4 separate regions of the Homo sapiens genome follow, and regions 2, 3 and 4 are each linked to region 1. The links are contacts of gene promoters, found by promoter capture Hi-C in blood cells and fetal thymus (Javierre and others, 2016). All regions are on one chromosome and are shown on one strand. Each heading gives the region's core, a stretch centred on a gene start or on the middle of the fragment in contact. The rest is flanking DNA. Distances are from core to core; before and after follow the strand shown.

Region 1 (2,629 bases), core at 49-2,548:
TGGAAGAGATGGGCACTGGGGTGAGCAGGGAGGGCTGGGGCTCCAAAGCCCATTGATGAAAGTAAGGATGAGAAGAGGCCAGAGGGGATCCACCCAGGCAGGGATGGTGCAATCTGTACTCGTTCCAGCTCTATGGACAGATTCAAGATTACCCCCAGGAGCTCGGAGATCGAAAAGAAGATAAAAAGAAAAGGGGTGTGGGGCTAGGGAGTGGGAAGGGCTGAGAGGCTAGAGCGAGTAGCAGCATGAACAAGAGCCTCCTCTGGGTTCCCAAACAAGGTCTGAGGCCTCTGAGCTAAGAGGTAACATCATCGCCCTCTGCCTGGCTGTCTATCTTCCATTCAGGCCCTTAACAGGTGTGGGAAGAGGGCTTTTCCACTATCCTTGGGATCTGCCCCAGCTGGGTAGGCGGGCAGAGGGGAAAGGATTATTCTGGTCAAGTCTTGCTGAATGTTGCTTCTCTTGTTCATTCACACGCACTCACAAGGCTGGTCCCAGGCAGCATATCTGAGATACCTCCAAATCCCTCCAGATTCATGTTATCCCCAAACACAGCAACCAGTCACTGAGAGGCACCAAGCTCCCAAGACAGCACTTCTGTCCCTCAGGACCCCTTCTCCCACACTGAGGGAAAAAAGATTCTAGGATTCCCTTAAAACCAGTGCCTCACCTGACAGTGTCCCCTCAAATTCATTCCCCTCATGTCCGACTGAAAATCCCCGAATTCAGCCTCTAATCAGAGACCCTGTCTACCAAGTTCAGCTATCTCAGACCAGTTTCTGGATACTCCAGAATAGGCCCCTCTAGACGCAGTCAAGGGCTCCCCAAACCTGACCCAGACCCCGCTTAATGCACTCCCACGACTCCTTTAATAAAGCCACAATCCAAGCAGGCCACTGCCGGATTCCTTAGGTGCCCCCCCAAGACGGGCGCCCCGACGTCCTCCAAGGCTAGGCCGAGGGCCTCCAATCCCAGTCCGGGGCCCCCACTGCCCCCGAGATCAGGCCCCTGGGAGCCCCAGTCGGCACTCCCAGCCCCAGGCGGCCCCGCACCTGAGCAGCTGAGCCGAGTCGGCCGGCCTGCGCTCCTCCAACAGCACGAACACGGCTCGAGGGCCCTCCGCGCTGGCCTCTACGCCATCCCGAGCTGGTTCGGCCGCATGAGACATGACGCCCGGCCCCGGGCGAGCCCTGCCAGGCCGGTCGGGCCTCGGCCCGGTCCCCCTAACAAAATAAGAGTCCCCCCTCCCCCCAGCTCGCCACCGCCGCCTCCTCCGCTAAGCCATGGAGCTAGCACTGCGCGGGCGGGCGGCGTCGGGGAGATGGGATGGGCTGTGAGTCATCCCCCGCCCAGAACGGACCGACGCCCCCCCTCAACCTAACCCCGGACGACCGCCCTCCTCCCCCTCGTCTTCTTCCCCCTCCTCCCTCCTCCCAGGGATGGGGAAACTCCACAGGAAGTGACCGCACTGGGGATGGATGGCCCGTCTGGCCACGACCCATTAGCGAGGCGGCCAATCGCTGAACGGCGATTCGAGGGCCCACCCTAAGCGACGCCTCCGACGCGGAGGAAAAACGCGATTCGGCCCGCCCTCATTCCGAGAAGCAGCACCCAGACCACGCCCTCAGGGGCAGCGACAAATAGGCGAGGGTTGATTTGGTTGAACCACGCCTCTATGTTTGCGTCGCTTTCGGAGCCACGCCCTCTCTTCTCAAATTATCCCTCTGCAAGGTAATATTAAGCCGCTCCTTGGGTCCTCTGCGCCTGCGCATCGATGGCCAGTCGGCGCACGGAGGGTCTCCTGGCCAAGCTTTTAGCTGCGGAACCGCGCCCTCTTTCGGCCAATATTTGTAATATCTGAGCCCTAGACCGCGCTCCAACCTCGATCTGGCTGTGCTCTCTCAGCCAAAGCCATAACTATGAGGCAGAGGCAGCTACATTCCCTGAAGGTGCGGGCCAGAAACCCCCCCCTTTCGCTGTCCGCAGTCCAGCCGCCCAGCTGGTCTTCCGGGAGTATTCCGCCTGTTCCATGCCATCGAGAGCGGTTGTACTATGTTCATTGCGCTGCGCAATATGTGCTTAATAAATTCTTGACGGGTGAATGAATCTGGTCCCTTCGGTGAATGACGACTTCTGGAATCACAAAGATCCAGGTTTGAATAGGGAAGGGGACCTCCCCTCTCCCAGCCTCAGCTTTCCTGGCCTGTTAAATGGGGGTCAAAATACCTGTCTGGCAGGGTTGTTCTGAGGATTAAAGATAATGTATGAAAAGTGCTAGCAGGTTGTTTGGCATACAAGAAGCTTCCCAAAATTAGTTGATTCACTCATTTGTTCACTTATTCAACATTCACTGAGCGCTTCTGTATGCCAGACGCATGCAAGCCGGCTCGCACAAGGCGGAGGGTCTCACTCATATATCCTCAGGTGCAAATAGCTCACAAAACACCCAGACCTACAGCCTTCCCTTCCTCTTTCCTGACATCCCAAGACCCCACCCTGAGTTGCGCCTCCAGGAATTTCACCGGGCTTTCATTTACCTTGGACCTTCCTGTATTGGCATCATTATTTCACAGGTCTGTCAGTTGCTTTCGTAAACTCATCCATACTCACACACAACCATCTCGTACAA
Region 2 (2,629 bases), core at 76-2,575, 390 kb before region 1:
TAACCAGAGCTGTACAGTTGTTGCAATTGATGAACCTGCAATTGACGCATCATCATCACCCAAAGTCCATAGTTTACATTATGACTCACTCGTGTTGTATATTTTATGGGTTTTGACAAAGATACAAGGACACATATCCATCATTGCAGTATCATGCAGAGTAGTTTCACTGCCCTAAAAATCCTCTGTGCTCCACTTATTCATCTCTCCTTCCCCTCAACTCCTGTAAACCACTAATCTTTTTACTGCCTCCTTAGTTTTGCCTTTTCCGGAATGTCATATAGTTGGAATCATACAGTATGTAGCCTTTTCAGATTGGCTTCTTTCACTTAGTATATCAGTCTGTTCTCATGCTGCTTATAAAGACATACCCAAGACTGGGTAATTTATAAAGAGGTTTAACGGAGTCACAGTTCCACGTGGCTGGGGAGGCCTCACAATAATGGTGGAAGGTAAAAGGCATGTTTTACATGGTGGCAGATAAAAGAGAATGTGGACCAAGCAAAAGGGTTTTCCCCTTATGAAACCATCAGATTTTGTGAGACTTATTCACTACCATGAGAACAATATGAGGGAAACTGCCCCCCATGATTCAGTTATCTCCCACTGGGTCTCTCCCACAACGCGTGGGAATTATGGGAGCTATAATTCAAGATGAGATTTGGGTGGGGACACAGCCAAACCTATCACTTAGTAATATGCATTTAAGTTTCCTCCATTTTTTTTTTTTTTTCTGAGACAGAGTCTCGCTCTGTCACCCAGGCTGGAGTGCAGTGGCGCGATCTCGGCTCTCTGCAACCTCCGCCTCCCGGGTTCAAGTGATTCTCCTGCCTCAGCTTCCTGAGTAGCTGGGATTACAGGCGTGTGCCACCACGCCCAGCTCATTTTTAGTAGAGATGGGGTTTCACCATGTTGGCCAGGCTGGTCTCAAACTCCTGACCTCAAGTGATCCACCTGCCTCCGCTTCCCAAAGTGCTAGGATTACAGGCATGAGCCACCGCGCCTGGCCTCTTCCATGTCTTTTTATGGCTTGGTAGCTCAGTTCTTTTTCTCACTGCATAATATTCCACTATCTGGATGTACCAGTTTATTTATCCACTCACCTACCAAAGGACATTTTGGTTGCTTCCATGTTTTTGCAATTATGAATAAAGCTGCTATAAACATTCCTGTGTGTAGATTTACGTGGGGACATAAGTTTTCAAGTCATTTGGGTAAATATCAAGGAATGCAATTACTGGATGGTATAGTAAGAGTATGTTTAGTTTTGTAAGAAGCCGCCAAACTGTCTTCCAAAGTGGCTGTGCCATTTTGCATTCTCATGAATGAGAGTTTCTGTTGCTCCACATCCTCGACAGCATTTGGTGTTGTCAGTGTGTTGTTTTCACCATTCTAATAGGTGTGTAGTGGCATCTCACTGTTGTTTTATTTTATTTTTTATTTTTTTAATTTTGAGACAGGGTTTCACTCTCGTTGCCCAGGCTGGAGTGCAATGGCGCGATCTTGACTCACCGCAACTTCCGCCTCCCAGGTTCAAGCAATTCTCCTGCCTCAGCCTCCCTAGTAGCTGGGATTACAGGCATGTGCCACCACGCCCAGCTAATTTTGTATTTTTAGTAGAGACGGGGTTTCTCCATGTTGGTCAGGCTGGTCTTGAACTCCTGACCTCAGGTGATCCGCCCGCCTTGGTCTCCCAAAGTGCTGGGATGACAGGCATGAGCCACTGCGCCCAGCCTAACTGTTGTTTTAATTTGCAAGTCTCTAATGACATATGATGTTGGGCATCTTCATATGCTTATTTGCCATCTGTCCACCTTCTTTGGTGAGGTGTCTATTCAGGTCTTTTGCCCATTTTTTAATCAGGTTGTTCATTTTCTTACCGTTGAGTTTTAAGAGCTCTTTGCAATTTTGGATAATAGTCATTTATCAGACACCTCTTTTGCAAATATTGTGGCTTGTCATTTCATTCACGTTTGTGGGGAGGGGGGAACGGAGTCTCACTCTGTCACCCAGGCTGGAGTGCAGTGGTGCAATCTCGGCTCACTGCAACCTCTGCCTCCTGGGTTCAAGCAATTCTCCTGCCTCAACCTCCAAGTAGCTGGGATTACAGGTGCACACTACCACACCTGGCTATCATCTCATTCTCTTGATCATCCTTTTTTCTTAAATTAAAAAGTGAGCAATTTCTTTGCAGTCAGAACAACATTTCTGTTGGCAGTGTGTGGTGGTAAAGAGGGGGACTCTGGAGTTAGCTTGGATTTGAATTCCAGTTCTGCCACTTATTAGCTGTGCCAGTTACTGAATGTCTCTGTGCTGCACTTTCCTCATCTTTAAAATGGGTATATGAGCTGGGCGTGGTGGCTCATGCCTGTAATCCCAGCACTCTGAGAGGCAGAGGTGGGTGGATTGCTTGAGGTCAGGAGTTCAAGACCAGCCTGGGCAACACGGCAAAATCCCGTCTCTACAAAAAATACAAAAATTAGCTGAGTGTGGTGGTGCACACCTGTAGTCTCAGCTACTTGGGGGACTGAGGTGGGAAGATCGCTTGGGCCCAGGAGGAGGAGGCTGCAGTGAGTGGAGATCGTGCCATTGCACTCCAGCCTGGGCGAGAGAGTGAGACTCTGTCTCC
Region 3 (2,629 bases), core at 83-2,582, 360 kb before region 1:
AAGATAAAACTAGGATGTCCAGTGGGGAGAAAGCAAGCCTTTGAAGATTATGTGCTTTTACAAACTTCAAGTGCAATGAAAACTAAACAAGATGTTGTTCAGGCATTCATATATGATATAAAGTTCCTTTCTTTAAAAAAGGGATGGGCTGGGCACGGTGGCTCACGCCTGTAATTCTAATACTTTGGGAGGCCGAGGCAGGTGGATCACGAGGTCGAGAAATCGAGACCATCCTGGCCAACATGGTGAAACCCTGTCTCTACTAAAAATACAAAAAAATTAGCTGGGCGTGGTGGCGTGTGCCTGTAGTCCCAGCTACTTGGGAGGCTGAGGCAGGAGAGTCACTTGAACCCGGGAGGCAAAGGTTGCAGTGAGCCGAGATCGTGCCACCGCACTCCAGCCTGGCGACAGAGTGAGACTCCATCTCAAAAAAAAAAAGAAAAAAAAAAGTATGACAAGCAGAAAGTAATTTGGGAGCTGCGGGGAGGCAAGGGTAAGGGATGGGGAAGTGGACCAGAGGCATATGCGTCATTGGCAGTGTCTAAGCACTCACGATAGGCGTGGATCACAGGGGCTCGCTCTGTAATTAAAAGGAAAAGGGTTTTTGTTGTGTTGTTGTTGTTGCTGTTTTTGAGACAAGGGTCTTGCTCTGTCATCATCCAGGCTGGAGTGCAGTGGTGCAGTCTCAGCTCACTGCAACCTCCGCCTCCTGGGTTCAAGCGATTCTCCTGCCTCAGCCTCCTGAGCAGCTAGGACTACAGGTGTGTGCCACCATGCCTGGCTAATTTTTGTATTTTTTAGTGGAAATGGGGTTTTGCCATGTTGCCCAGGCTCGTCTTGAACTCCTGACCTCAAGTGATCCACTCGTCTCGGCCTCCCAAAGTGCTGGGATTACAGGTGTGAGCTATTGTCCCCAGCCAAAAGGAAAAGTTTTACTGTAGTAACCCTTCCGGACTAGGGACCTCGGGCCTCAGCCTCAGGCTACCTAGGTGCTTTAGAAAGGAGGCCACCCAGGCCCATGACTACTCCTTGCCACAGGGAGCCCTGCACACAGATGTGCTAAGCTCTCGCTGCCAGCCAGAGGGAGGAGGGTCTGAGCCAGTCAGAAGGAGATGGGCCCCAGAGAGTAAGAAAGGGGGAGGAGGACCCAAGCTGATCCAAAAGGTGGGTCTAAGCAGTCAAGTGGAGGAGGGTTCCAATCTGATGGCGGAGGGCCCAAGCTCAGCCTAACGAGGAGGCCAGGCCCACCAAGGGGCCCCTGGAGGACTTGTTTCCCTTGTCCCTTGTGGTTTTTTGCATTTCCTGTTCCCTTGCTGCTCATTGCGGAAGTTCCTCTTCTTACCCTGCACCCAGAGCCTCGCCAGAGAAGACAAGGGCAGAAAGCACCATGAGTGGGGGCCCAATGGGAGGAAGGCCCGGGGGCCGAGGAGCACCAGCGGTTCAGCAGAACATACCCTCCACCCTCCTCCAGGACCACGAGAACCAGCGACTCTTTGAGATGCTTGGACGAAAATGCTTGGTGAGCTGGGGATCTCCTGCCCCCGCCCCGTCCCCACCGTTTCTTCCTCTTCCTCTCCTCCTTCTCTCTCTTCCCCTCCTCCCGCTCCTCCTTTCCCTCTCCATCATCTCCTCTCCTAGAATTTCCCGTCATAATCCACCCTTCCCAGGAAGATCTCAATGTCTACTTGCCTTCCCTCTGGCTGCAGCTCTTCCTTTGGGCCCATGACTGTCATGAGGCAGGAAGGACCAGGTCTGGCTCCAAGACCTTGTGGCTACCCCTGACCAGACTCCACTGACCCCTGCTTTCCTCTCCCAGACGCTGGCCACTGCAGTTGTTCAGCTGTACCTGGCGCTGCCCCCTGGAGCTGAGCACTGGACCAAGGAGCATTGTGGGGCTGTGTGCTTCGTGAAGGATAACCCCCAGAAGTCCTACTTCATCCGCCTTTACGGCCTTCAGGTGACCCCCCCACCCCCGACTGGACTTGCAAGCCAGTTCTCAACCCGCAAACCCAGATCTGTGTCCATATGTGTCCATAGCTTCAAGACCTCAGACCTGATCAGTGAATCCCTGAGCCCCAGAACCAAAGACTCATCCAGATGGCAAACTCTGACTTGCCTTTCTAAGTCTGCAATGACTGGCCCCAGTCTCCGTATCAAGATCTCTAAAGCCCCCAGTATTAGTCTGCTGCCTAAGCCTAATCTTTTCCACAAATTCCAATAAATGAGCACTGTATTTGTACCTGAACCTCAAATCTATTCTAAACTCAACATTTTGCATCCCAGGAATCTCTCATCAAAACTCCTGAACCCCAGATGTTTGCCAAGCTCCTAAGTCATAAATCTGTTCAACAAACCCCAAAGTTGAATATTCCATTGATCCTTGAACTCCAAATCTGTCCTTCTAAATCCACAGCACAGACCCCAGAGTTCCCATATTAAAATTCCTGAACACTCAAATACCGAGGTAGTTCTTAAGCAAAAAGTCTTTTCCACAATCCCCTGACCTGAACTTTCTAGGTTTAAGCCCCAAATTCATCCTTTTAAACCCATAAAGATGGACCCAGCATAACTTCCAGATCCCAAGGCTATCAAATATCCACCAAACTCCTAAACCATAACTCTCTCCACA
Region 4 (2,629 bases), core at 81-2,580, 280 kb before region 1:
CGCCAGTGGGCTCCAGCATGGGTGACAAAGTGAGACACTGTCTCAAAAAAAAACAAAAACAAAACAATATCCACAACACAAAGTGTTTGTGTTGGGGGTAACTAGAAACAAAAATCTCAAACTCACATGCTCCAGGGGCCAGACAAGTAACCTGTAAGGGAGATGGGGGAGTTCTGCTCAGGGTAAAGTGAACAGCAACTGGGCTGATGAATGTTCTCTGACTCTCAGCAGCGGAAGGTGAGGGTGAGTGAAGGGTGAGTGGGGAGGAGGAGGAAGACTGCAAATCTCATCCCCCAAAACTCATCCCCCAAAATAATTCAGGAACATCACACCCTGGGGCTCAGAACTTTTTTTTTTTTAAACAGAGTCTCACTCTGTCACCCAGGCTGGAGTGCAATGGCGCGATCTCGGCTCACTGCAACCTCCGCCTCCCGGGTTCAAACTATTCTCCTGCCTCAGGCTCCTGAATAGCTGGGACTACAGGTGCACACCACCATGCCTGGGTAATTTTTGTATTTTTAGTAGAGATGGAGCTTTACCATGTTGGCCAGGCTGGTCTCGAACTCCCAGCCTCAAGTAATCCGTCCACCTTGGCCTCCCAAAGTGCTGGGATTACAGGCGTGAGCCACCGTGCTTGACCAAGGGGCTCAGAACTCTTAAGAGTTCAGGGATCTTGGCTTGGAAACAGACACCTAATGGGTCAGAGCAGTCATACTCTAACTCAGATAGCTCACAACTTCATACCCCTGACACACACTCTCAAACAGCTCACAGATCTCACACTTTGGAGACATACCCCTAAGTAGACCAGAGGCATCACACGCTAGAATAAAGATCCCCTTAATACTTGGTGGTTTTTCAGTATTATTATTATTGAGATGGAGTCTTGCTCTGTCACCCAGGCTGAAATGCAATGGCGCCATCTCGGCTCACTGCAACCTCCGCCTCCCGGATTCACGCGATTCTCCTGCCTCAGCCTCCCAAGTAGCTGGGATTACAGGCGCCCGCCACCATGCCTGGCTAATGTTTTGTATTTTTAGTAAAGATAGGGTTTTGCCATGTTGTCCAGGCTGGTCTCGAAATCCTGATCTCAGGTGATCCACGTGCCTTGTCCTCCCAAAGTGCTGGGATTACAGGCATGAACCACCGCACCCAGCCTTCAGTGTTAACAAGAAGTAATCCCTTACACACATCCACTTTAAGCTTTCAATTTTGAGGCCCTGAATTTAATGTTAAAGTCCTTCCATTTGCACTACCTACCTGTGTCACCTCCCACAGTCCTCAGCCTGTGCCCTCCCATTCCTGCCCCTTGATCTCCAGGCGCTGAGCCAGAGGATTGTCGGGAGGACCCTGGGCAAAGACGCCTACCCTGCCATGCTGCGCCATCTGCCCTCCAGGCTGCCAGTCAAGATGTGGGGCAGGACTTTGGAGAAACAGGTGAACAAGATGGCCCCTGGGGATCTGGGGCAAGGGTGTTGGCACTGAAACTGGTCTAGTAACCTGTTTCCCTTCTCTGCGGGCTCCCATTTCCTGTCCTCCTCTCTCCCTTTCTCTTTCAGAGACAAGCAGAGGGCAGCAGAGGCCCATGGAAAGGCCCGGCTCTAAGCCATGGAGGGCCCTGTGCTCAGGTGTGCAGGGCTGGGCCGGGGCTGAGGGCTGGCTCCTCCCCCAGTTTAGCCAGGGACAGGTGGAGAGATACAAAGGTGGCTCACGCAGGGTGCCCCCAAAGCTGTCATGATTAAGGCCATGTGGAGAGAGGCTAGGAAACACAGCGCTGACCTTGAGCTTTAGGAGAGGAATTCAGAGGCCCCTGGCAACCTGAAGGGGACCTTGAAGAGGACCCTGTAGGAAGACAGAACACTTCCCTGTAGAGGAGGCCAAAGGAGGAAGGACATGGTGTTCCGGGCACTCTGACTATAGGGATTTTATATGCTGTGGTGAGAAATAAAATGGATTATATTTTTGTAGAGTGTGTAAAACGGGGCTTGGCACACAGTAAGCCTTGTGTGATTACTATGTCTTTTTTTTTTTTTTTTTTTGAGACCGAGGTTTGCTCTTGTCGCCCAGGGTGGAGTGCAGTGGTGCAATCTCAGGTCACTGCAACCTCTGCCTCCCAGGTTCAAGCGATTCTCCTGCCTCAGCCTCCCGAGTAGGGGATTACAGGTGCACGTCACCATGCCCAGCTAATTTTTGTATTTTTAATAGAGACAGGATTTCACCATGTAGGCCAGGCTGGTCTCAAACTCCTGACCTCATGTAATCCACCCACCTTGGCCTCCCAAAGTGCTAGGATTACAGACGTGAGCCACTGCACCCAGTCCTTTGTGTGATGACTATGTCTTGATCATCATTTTATAAAGCAGGCTTTGTAACTTCACCTCCAAGAGTCTGCAGGATCCAGACCCTGCCTTGCCCTCCCACTTATCTCTCACTCACTCTTGGGTTCTGAGCTACGCTGGCCTTCCTGTTATTGAAGACAGCCATCCCTGCTCGTCCTTGAATTTGCAAGGATGGAGCTCCGAGTCTGCAAAGCAGGATCTGGGGAGTGAATCTAAGCTGGCAGGGAAGAATAGAATAATGGGAGGAATAGGTGGAGTTTATTTCTAACAGACTATCAAAATGATGCAGA

Evidence for each region. The method cuts DNA at HindIII sites, captures the fragments that hold promoters and counts their contacts. A CHiCAGO score of 5 or more calls a contact.
Region 2: a contact is called between a fragment that was not itself captured here and the fragment with the promoter of TFE3 in region 1, in 3 of 17 cell types (total B cells, naive B cells and naive CD8 T cells). The highest score is 6.4, in total B cells.
Region 3: a contact is called between the fragment with the promoter of WAS here and the fragment with the promoter of TFE3 in region 1, in 1 of 17 cell types (M0 macrophages). The highest score is 5.1, in M0 macrophages.
Region 4: a contact is called between the fragment with the promoter of GLOD5 here and the fragment with the promoter of TFE3 in region 1, in 2 of 17 cell types (megakaryocytes and activated CD4 T cells). The highest score is 6.1, in megakaryocytes.

The regions. Positions count from the first base shown.
Region 1 is chrX:49,042,059-49,044,687 of GRCh38, forward strand. TFE3 (transcription factor binding to IGHM enhancer 3) reads right to left here and starts at 1,299. Exons shown (of 10, transcript NM_006521.6): 1 at 1,053-1,299. The coding sequence starts at 1,168. RefSeq lists an enhancer at 625-1,488 and a silencer at 1,030-1,269. The HindIII fragment of the contact is 3,845 bases long and covers 1-1,808 here.
Region 2 is chrX:48,649,230-48,651,858 of GRCh38, forward strand. All of the region lies in intron 1 of LOC124905186 (a long non-coding RNA gene), which reads left to right. Among named protein-coding and RNA genes, the nearest start is that of WAS, 33 kb to the right of the region's middle. The HindIII fragment of the contact is 7,789 bases long and covers 1-2,629 here.
Region 3 is chrX:48,682,467-48,685,095 of GRCh38, forward strand. WAS (WASP actin nucleation promoting factor) reads left to right here and starts at 1,333. Exons shown (of 12, transcript NM_000377.3): 1 at 1,333-1,519; 2 at 1,817-1,957. The coding sequence starts at 1,388. The HindIII fragment of the contact is 18,512 bases long and covers 1-2,629 here.
Region 4 is chrX:48,760,417-48,763,045 of GRCh38, forward strand. GLOD5 (glyoxalase domain containing 5) reads left to right here and starts at 1,331. Exons shown (of 4, transcript NM_001080489.3): 1 at 1,331-1,437. The coding sequence starts at 1,375. RefSeq lists a cis regulatory region at 1,083-1,825. The HindIII fragment of the contact is 2,551 bases long and covers 1,202-2,629 here.